3 separate regions of the Homo sapiens genome follow, and all the other regions are linked to region 2. Evidence: promoter capture Hi-C in 16 types of primary human blood cells and fetal thymus (Javierre and others, 2016). All regions are on one chromosome and are shown on one strand. Each heading gives the region's core, a stretch centred on a gene start or on the middle of the fragment in contact. The rest is flanking DNA. Distances are from core to core; before and after follow the strand shown. Region 1 overlaps GEMIN8 (gem nuclear organelle associated protein 8). Region 2 holds the start of TCEANC (transcription elongation factor A N-terminal and central domain containing). Region 3 has its middle 15 kb from the start of GEMIN8.

Region 1 (2,801 bases), core at 141-2,640, 360 kb after region 2:
TCAAAGCTGAAAATGTCCTTATTGAATAAGTAGCTTCTAGTGGTTTTGAGAGCAAAATGAAACAAAAAACTTGAACCAATTATTCATACTACCCAGGTCCCTTATCTCTTTATTAAAGCTTTTTCCAACAGTGTATGTAACTAACCCTCCATGAAAATTTCTGGTGAAGGTAATGAATTGGAAAGCGCCATGGGCACTCAGATTACTTACATATGAATTCCATCATTCATTACCGCTTGAAGAACAGTTGTTCATCCTGTACTCACCAAAAGTGCTGCTGAAAAAAATAATGCTAGTGATCTATTGCCCATTATTTTCTTACTGGTGCAAGATCGGGCCCTGGCAGCTGCTTCTAATATAGACGAAGTCTTTAGATTCCAGTCTGACACCACAGTCTGTTCTCACCCTCACCAGACAATTCTCACATCTCCCTGGGACCAGCTAATGCATTCAGGGAAGGCTGTAGGAGCATGACACAGACGCTAAGAAAAGTAGTTTTGAATCATGCTGTAACTACACATTTTAAAAATACAAAGAATTGAAAGCTTGTTTAGGGACATTATTAGTAATATTGAAGTGGGTTAATTTTCCCAGTCCATGTACTTTACTGCATTAAATTTTATCAAGCAAGAATATCCTTGAAACAGAACTAAAAACTGTGTTAATTGCTAAATTTGATAGACACCAAAACTTTCATTCTTTCATGTCTTTAATATTCTAAATCAGTTTAAAAGTTTGAAAGGTGCCACCCAGAGCAGAAATATGACCTTTCTGAAGTCACAGAACATCTTATTAAAAATATGCAGAATCTTAGCTGGGCGCGGTAGCTCATGCCTATAATCCAGCACTTTGGGAGGCCGAGGCAGGTGGATCACCTGAGGTCAGGAGTTCAAGACCACTCTGGACAACATGGTGAAACACCATCTCTACTACTAATAAAAAAATTAGCTGGGTGTGGTGGTTGGCGCCTGAAATCCCAGCTACTTGGGAGGCCGAGGCAGGAGAATCACTTGAACCCGGGAGGCATAGGTTGTAGTGAGCTGAGATGGCGCCACTGTACTCTAGCCTGGGTGACAGAGTAAGAATCTGTCTCAAAAAAAAAAAAAAAAAAAAAAATATATATATATATATATATATATATGTACAGAATCTCAATCAAGCACTAATCAAGGCAAACGGTATCAGAGAAAAACCAATTTATGGTTAATAATCCATGTTAAAGGATGGGTTACTAGCAACTAACTGTAACAATAACATTTATTGGGCACCAACTTGGTACCAAGCACCATTCTATAACTTTTCTCATATTATCTCATGGATTCTTCACAATTACTACCCATTAGGGATTCTTCATAATTACTACCCACTAATTAGGATCCTATTTCATAGGTGAGGCAACTGAGGCAAAGAATGGTGAAGGCAGGGGGCTTACAGGAGGACGAGAACCTCTAATCAGCGAGTGGTAGAGTGAGGCTGGACCTCTGTGATTCAAGCAGTTCTGCCACAGCTGCCTCCATACACTGTTGCCAGCAATAATATGAATACTGGAAAATGAGGTTCAAGATGGAAGTTGCAAGGGTTTTCATAAAATTCCCTTTTATGATGGTTTGCTATCTAGATCACAGTAAAACAAATAAGTAATACAGTTTTTTCAGACAGATGACAAGAACTGTGGGTTTACTTTATGTCCCAGTCACAGATTGCATTTGGGGACAAAGAAAATTCTCCCAGGGTGATTGTACTCCTTTCCTAGGGCTGCCATAACAAAGTACCATATACTGGGTGGTTTAAAACAACAGAAATGTATTGTCTCATGGCTCTGGAGGTCAGAAGTCTGCAATCGAGGTGTTGGCAGGGCCATAAACCCTCTAAAGGTGCTAGGGAAGGATCTGTTCCAGGCCTCTCCCACCTTCTGGATGTTCCTTGGATTGTGGCGACATAATGTCAATCTTCACATGGTGTTTTCACTGCATGTGTGTCTGTCTCTGTGTCCGGATTTTGCCCTTTTTATAAGGACCTGAGTCACATAGGATTAGGATCCCTGTAATGACCTCACTTAACCTCAATTACCTCTGGAAAGACCCTGTCTTTAAATAAGGTCACATTCTGAGGAACTGGGGGTTAGGATTCCACTGTATCTTTCTTGGGGAGATACAATTCAACCCAGATGATGAAAGTGCAATTTGGAGCCGTAAAGTAACTAGACAGATTTGGAAATAATATGAAACACAGAGATGAAGCTTATCAAGTTTATAATGCACACAAGGCCTAGCTCATTCTGTAAAATGTCCCACAGAATCACTGCAAGTGTAGCACTCTATGGGTAAGATTTGCCAACCTCTGATTTAAGGCTTCTAATTCACACTGAAAGACTTCATTTATTCACTCAAAATAATATTAAGTGGCAAGTATGACTTAGCAGGTAATTTTCATGATTTTGTTTACCTACCTAGAGTTCTACCTAACAATGGCAAGAGGGAGGAATAGGGATGGTTGTTAACAATATCTGTAACTGAACCGTTCACATTTTTTCTTTGGTGCAAGGACACATTTCATTGTTTTATCTTTATTTTATTCATATCCACTTTTTATTGACTAACTCAAGTTTATTTTAAACCAGCAGATAATTCAAAGTCACCTTTGAGATGACTGGGATTTGCTTCCATCCATAATTACAATTTCCATCATAAAAGTATCAACCTCTAGTGGGCAAAACATGTTATTCTACTTTCTGGTAAGGACAAGAGTAATAAACTCGATCTCCATCCCATTTTCTCTGTCAAAAGCTGTAACAAACAGCA
Region 2 (2,874 bases), core at 305-2,804:
ATCCTCCACCAACCTCCAGGTGACATCTGATCACCCTGGCCCGTCTTCAGCAAGAATCTTGTCAGGTTGGTTTAGACAGAATCCCCCTTACCCCTGATGTTTCCTCTTAATAATTTTCCATCCACTGACCCCCCTACCTTGCTCCTTGGCTATAAATTCTCACTTTTCCATGCTACAATTGAAGTTGAGCCCAATCTCTCTTCCCCACTGCAAGACCCTGTTGCAGTGGTACCTATGTCTATCTCAATGGTCCTGAATAAAGTCTTCCTTACCATGCTTTAACAAGTGACAAGTGTCATTAAATAATTTTTTTTTTTTGAGACCAAGTCTTGCTCTGTCGCTAGGCTGGAGTGCAATGGCTCGATCTCAGCTCACTGCAACCTCCGCCTCCCGGGTTCAAGCGATTCTCCTGCCTCAGCCTCCCAAGTAGCTGGGATTACAAGCACGTGCCACCACGCCTGGCTAATTTTTTGTATTTTTAGTAGAGACGGGGTTTCACCGTGTTAGCCAGGATGGTCTCGATCTCCTGACCTCATGATCCGCCTGCCTCGACCTCCCAAAGTGCTGGGATTACAGGCATGAGCCACCACGCCCAGCCAAATAATTTTTTCTTTAAAAAGGTATTATATAATCCTTAAACATTTTAGCCCTATAATAGACAGCAAGAAAAAAGTAACCCCTGACAGCTCTGAGCTGCCCCGGCAGTCACAGCTGGGCCTTGGTGCTGCGTGGAACATAAATACTTCACAGAACACCATCAGACGTGGCCACTCTTTGACCAGATGGATCAAGACAAAAACAAGACTCCTTCGTAATCACGTGGGAATGCTGAAAAAACGTAAACATTGTCCAAACCACAAAAATGACCAAACATCCCCTATCCCAGTTAATGAGTCACTGGTCTTGTCTCCCCTCCTTTTAGGTAAGATTTATTATGATACTTAATCATACAATCGCCCTCCTTCCTGCCAGCACCCAGTCCAGAGTATTGGATTGGATACTCTGTTTCCCTGAACCTTTCCCCAAATTACCTTGGGGTAAGGCATCAGCAAAGGAGGCTGTCACATTCGTTCAACCATCACTGTGCTTTTACTGGCCCTTTGCAGGCAAAGAATGAGAATATGCACAGATGAGAAGTCCAGGATGCACAAGACCACTCAATTAACATTTACTACTTTCATATCAACTGATGCATGCTAGGATGCTAAAAACACTTTTTGAATTAATTACTGCGTTAAATAGATTCACATTTATGTCTACAGTTATGTGAACATCTAGCTGAGCACTGTCTTGACTGTCCTGAGTAGAAGCAGAAAAGATAAGTTGTAAAGTACATCAACAAACTTTGCTGCTAAAAAACGAAAGTGCAGTTTCTTTCTCTCGGGCCCGGGGCGGGGCCATGGCTCCTCCTCTAGGAAGCCGCGCGAGCGCAGTCCCACGGCAGCCATTTCCCTAGCGCGCATGCACTGGGTCCCAGGACCACGTGCGCCGGCCTGTGGGCTTGGATTGGCTGAGCCTTGACGTTGTCCCAGTCCCGGTGATCGGAAGTTCTCCGTGGGCACTGGGCGGCTGAAGGCTCCGGAACTGCGCCTGCGCTTTTCGGTGAGTCATGCTTCAGGTTTGCCAGGGCCTGTGTCCCGCAAAAAGGCGAGCCCTTATTCCCAGCGGAAGCCCACCCCGGCTCGCGGCAGCTTTCCGGTGCGCCCTGGGCGGCGTAGATCCGAAGGTGCTCGCACCCCCGCCCCTTCCTCTCCGACTGTCGAGGTCGCCAGAGTGGGCTGAACCCTCGGGACTGTCGCTGTTTGTGTGCTGGGTGCCGGGCCGTCATCCCAAGATGATTAGCGGCAGGCTTTGCATGTTGCTCGACCCCACCCACCGGAACTCGAACCCGGGCTAGACCGGGCAGTTGGGCTGGTCCCTTCCTCTCGCTGCACCTTTACTAGGGGTCACCATTAAGGGAAATGGTCCTAGTGCAGTGCTGAGTGGCTGTTCAGTAACCGCTACACCGCTGCCAACATTTGGCATCGTTTCTCTCCATAGAGGGCGGGGCTCCCTGTGAAGCTGGGGAGCTGTTAAGTGGGTTAGGGCTAGAAAGTTACAGTTTCTCTTTAGGCTTTAAAGAGATCTAAAGATCTGAACAGATCTAGGTTATTTTTGACTTGTTACAAACTTCTGGAAACATTGTTTCCAGACCTTTCCTCTCGTTCTTCTCAGGGTTTAGGCCATTTTTGTGCAGATGTGTGCACCTTGCTTACTATAATATTAGCTAATCTTTATAAGTTTTTATATGGATCCAATACCATATTTCGTGCCTACTTTTCCTGGCACTGTATACACTTTTTGGTATAGGTATGCACCTAAGCAAGCATTATCCATATTAGCATCAGTTCTAGAACCGTGGCGTCCCAATAATGATAGCCATTAGTTACATAAGGCTTGATCACTTGAAATGTGGCTAGTCCGAATTGAGATGTGCTGTAAGTGTAAGACACAGTGAATTTTCGAGAATTAGCATGAAAAAGAATGTAAAATATCTCAATTTGTTTATATTAATCACATGTTGAAATGACTATTCTGGATACACTGGGTTAAATAAAATGTATAATTAATTTCACCAATTTTTATTTTTTAACATGACTACTGGAAAATTTTAAATCATATTTGTGGTTTACATGTTATATATATGTTGCACAGCCCTGCTCTAGAAAAGGGTCAACAAACTATGGCCTGCAGCCAAATCCAGCCTGCCTGTTTTTGTAAACAAGTGTTACCAGAGCAAGATCATGCCTATCCATTTATGTTATTTTCTGTATCTGCTGTTGCTGCTACAATAGCAGCAGAGTTGAGTAGTCCATAGAGATTGTATGGCCTACA
Region 3 (2,700 bases), core at 135-2,634, 390 kb after region 2:
GTCCTCTGGTGTTTTAACCTTCTTCAGGTCAATAGTCCTCAGTGTTTTAGACAGAAATATTTTGGGTTCCTTCATGGCTGAAACCCCAATAACAAATGACAGATTAAAAAGAGAAAAGCATAGCAAGTTTACTCAATATAAATTTTACATAACACAGGAAGCTTCAGAAATGAAAACCCAGAGACTAAGGGAAAACCATATTTTTGTGGACAGTCATGCAGAAGTGTGATTGGAGGACAAAATAATATGACATAGTGGTAGTAAATTTGGGGGAACTTAGCAAGGCCTGTTTGTTCAGATTCTTTTTGGCCTCTCTGTGTAACATTTCTTTCCTCTAGGTATAGGGCAGGACACCTGTCATATGAGGGTCTTCAGGGGAGAAAGGAAGGAGAGGGTCAGAGACTGACCTTCCTAGATTCTATGGCCTGTTTCAGGGGAGAATGGTGGGAGAAGATGAGAGAGACCTTCCTGCTTCTGCCATTTTCTCAATTGCCAAGCTACTGTATTTTGGGGTATTGTGTTCTGAGCCTGTCAGCTTAGATTAATGTTTGAGAAGTGACCATTTTGTAATAATCAATGCTAATCACTGGACAAATTATTGTACAGTGTAATTAGAAATGATCATCAACACTGGATAAATTATCTGAATGTTCATACTGTTTTATTGCTTGCCATGTGCAGGCATAGACTGTCTATGGAAGGAAAGGGAGTATATTTGGAGTGAATAACAGTGTTGTCTACATTAGGCTAGATTTGCTGGTCATTGTTATAGAAAGCCATTTAAGCAAATGTTATCACTTCCGTAGTTTGACGGCTACAGTAATGAAAACCTAAGGTGTCTTATTGTTATCTGAACATATTACATATTAGAAATGAATGTATCTATTGAATTCTGAATTATTCATGGTAGTAGTGACAAGGTTAATGTTTAGAAAAATTACTTAATCACACATATTGGAATAAGCCAAAATAAAGTGTTTAGAGTCTTGAAACCATTCCAAAATCACATTTTACCCAATAACTGAAAAAATATTCTTCCATCACACTTTGAAAGCACTGTGAATAATCATGAAATAACAGTACCCTTTCAAATTTTGGCTAATTTTTTGTTGGAAATGATGATGGGGGACAAGATGGTCCAAAGGTTAGGAACTAGAGAATACTTTCTCTTCTGGCTATATGATCCTATAAACATCTACAAATTTGGTGATCAGTAGCTCAGTGAATGTTAAGGGTAATGTACGCTCTCAATTTATTAGGTATCCATTGGTTTTCTATTAAACTAAATGTATGTAATCAATTTAATATGCATGATTGATAAGACCCATAGAAATAAAATACTAGTTGAATCCTTTACAGCAGTGGTTCTTAGCTTTGAATTCATATTGGAAACACTTGAACAGCTTTTAAAAATCCCAAACCCAGGTCACATTCCAGACCAATTAAACTAGAATCTCTTGGGGATGAGGCCCAGATATCCGTACTTTTAAAGCTCACTAGATAGTTCTAATATGTAGCCAACTTTGAGAAATACTACTTTATAGAACATCTCTGCTTACTCTTAGTTAAGTTTAAGTATTTCAGGGACTCTTTCTTTAACAATCATTAACAGTCTTTTTCTTAAACAGTCTTTAGGGACTGTTTCTGTTTCTTTTTCTTTAAATGGAAGCAAATCATTCCAAAATAATAGTTTATTTGTTTTATTTTATTCCTATCTGTTTTTTTTTGCTCTTGTTTCATTTTGTTTTATTTTTGCCAAGTTGATCAATATAGCATAATGGCATATGGAGTCAGGTCATTCTCAGTTTGAATGCAGATTGGGCTATTTACCAGTTGTCATAGATTGGCAATGTATTTAATCTCTAAGCAAGTTTCCCCCTGCCCCATCTATAGCAGTATTTCTCAACTGGAGGCAATTTTTTCCCACCAGGAGACATTTGTCAATGTTGGAGATGTTTTTGATTGTTACTGCTGGGGAGTTGTTTTTGACATCTACTGGGTAGAGGCCAGGGATGCTGCTCAACATCCTACAATGCACAGGACAGAGCCATAGCAAAGAATTATCTGGCTCCAAAAGTCACTAGTGCTGAGGTAAAGGAACCCTGATCTACAGAGTGAGGCTCTAGAGTCTGACTGCATTCAAAGTCTTATTTCTCTACTTCCTAACTGTGTAATCTTGAGCAATTTACTGAATGTATTCTTGCCTGAATCCCATGTGAAAATGCAGATATTATTAGCACCCACTTTGGAGTTGATGGGAGGTTTAAATGGGATAATGCATTTGGAGCATTAATACAGTGCAAATTATTACCACAATATGTGTCTTTCTGTTCTGGGGCATTTATGGCCTTTTGTCAGTATCCCTGAGATAATTTGTTTGATATATCTCTTGATAATCTGAGTTCATATTCCGTGGTTCAGTGGGAGAAGAGAAAAAGGGGTTGGAGGCTGGAGTTGTCTTTGAACATGTACATGCTTTCAATTTTAAGTGGGAATTCAGAGGAGATAGTTACACAGCACACTGTTAAATTCCTTCTCCCACTTTTCACTTTCCTCCCCCAGCTCACCACTAGCTTGACAATTGTATTGGGTTGGAGTATTCAAATAAAAAGCTTGTATTCAGCCAAATAAAAGTCAAAGAGATTCTTTTAAGTACAGGTTCTAAGGGAAAGTGCTTAACAGCAATGAGCACAGTTTATT

Evidence for each region. Contacts are between HindIII fragments. The CHiCAGO score rates a contact against its expected background, and 5 or more counts as called.
Region 1: a fragment that was not itself captured here is called in contact with the fragment with the promoter of TCEANC in region 2 in 4 of 17 cell types (naive CD8 T cells, total B cells, non-activated CD4 T cells and 1 more); the score reaches 6.9 in naive CD8 T cells.
Region 3: a contact is called between a fragment that was not itself captured here and the fragment with the promoter of TCEANC in region 2, in 1 of 17 cell types (non-activated CD4 T cells). The highest score is 5.1, in non-activated CD4 T cells.

What each region holds. Positions count from the first base shown.
Region 1 is chrX:14,015,752-14,018,552 of GRCh38, forward strand. The region is part of intron 4 of GEMIN8 (gem nuclear organelle associated protein 8); the gene reads right to left. Among named protein-coding and RNA genes, the nearest start is that of GEMIN8, 13 kb to the right of the region's middle. The HindIII fragment of the contact is 1,695 bases long and covers 544-2,238 here.
Region 2 is chrX:13,651,587-13,654,460 of GRCh38, forward strand. TCEANC (transcription elongation factor A N-terminal and central domain containing) reads left to right here and starts at 1,555. Exons shown (of 5, transcript NM_001297563.2): 1 at 1,555-1,602. LOC107985657 (a long non-coding RNA gene) reads right to left here and starts at 1,853. Exons shown (of 1, transcript NR_171573.1): 1 at 911-1,853. RefSeq lists enhancers at 1,238-1,427, 1,688-1,777 and a silencer at 1,356-1,667. The HindIII fragment of the contact is 12,822 bases long and covers 1-2,874 here.
Region 3 is chrX:14,043,464-14,046,163 of GRCh38, forward strand. No RefSeq gene overlaps it. Among named protein-coding and RNA genes, the nearest start is that of GEMIN8, 15 kb to the left of the region's middle. The HindIII fragment of the contact is 2,451 bases long and covers 160-2,610 here.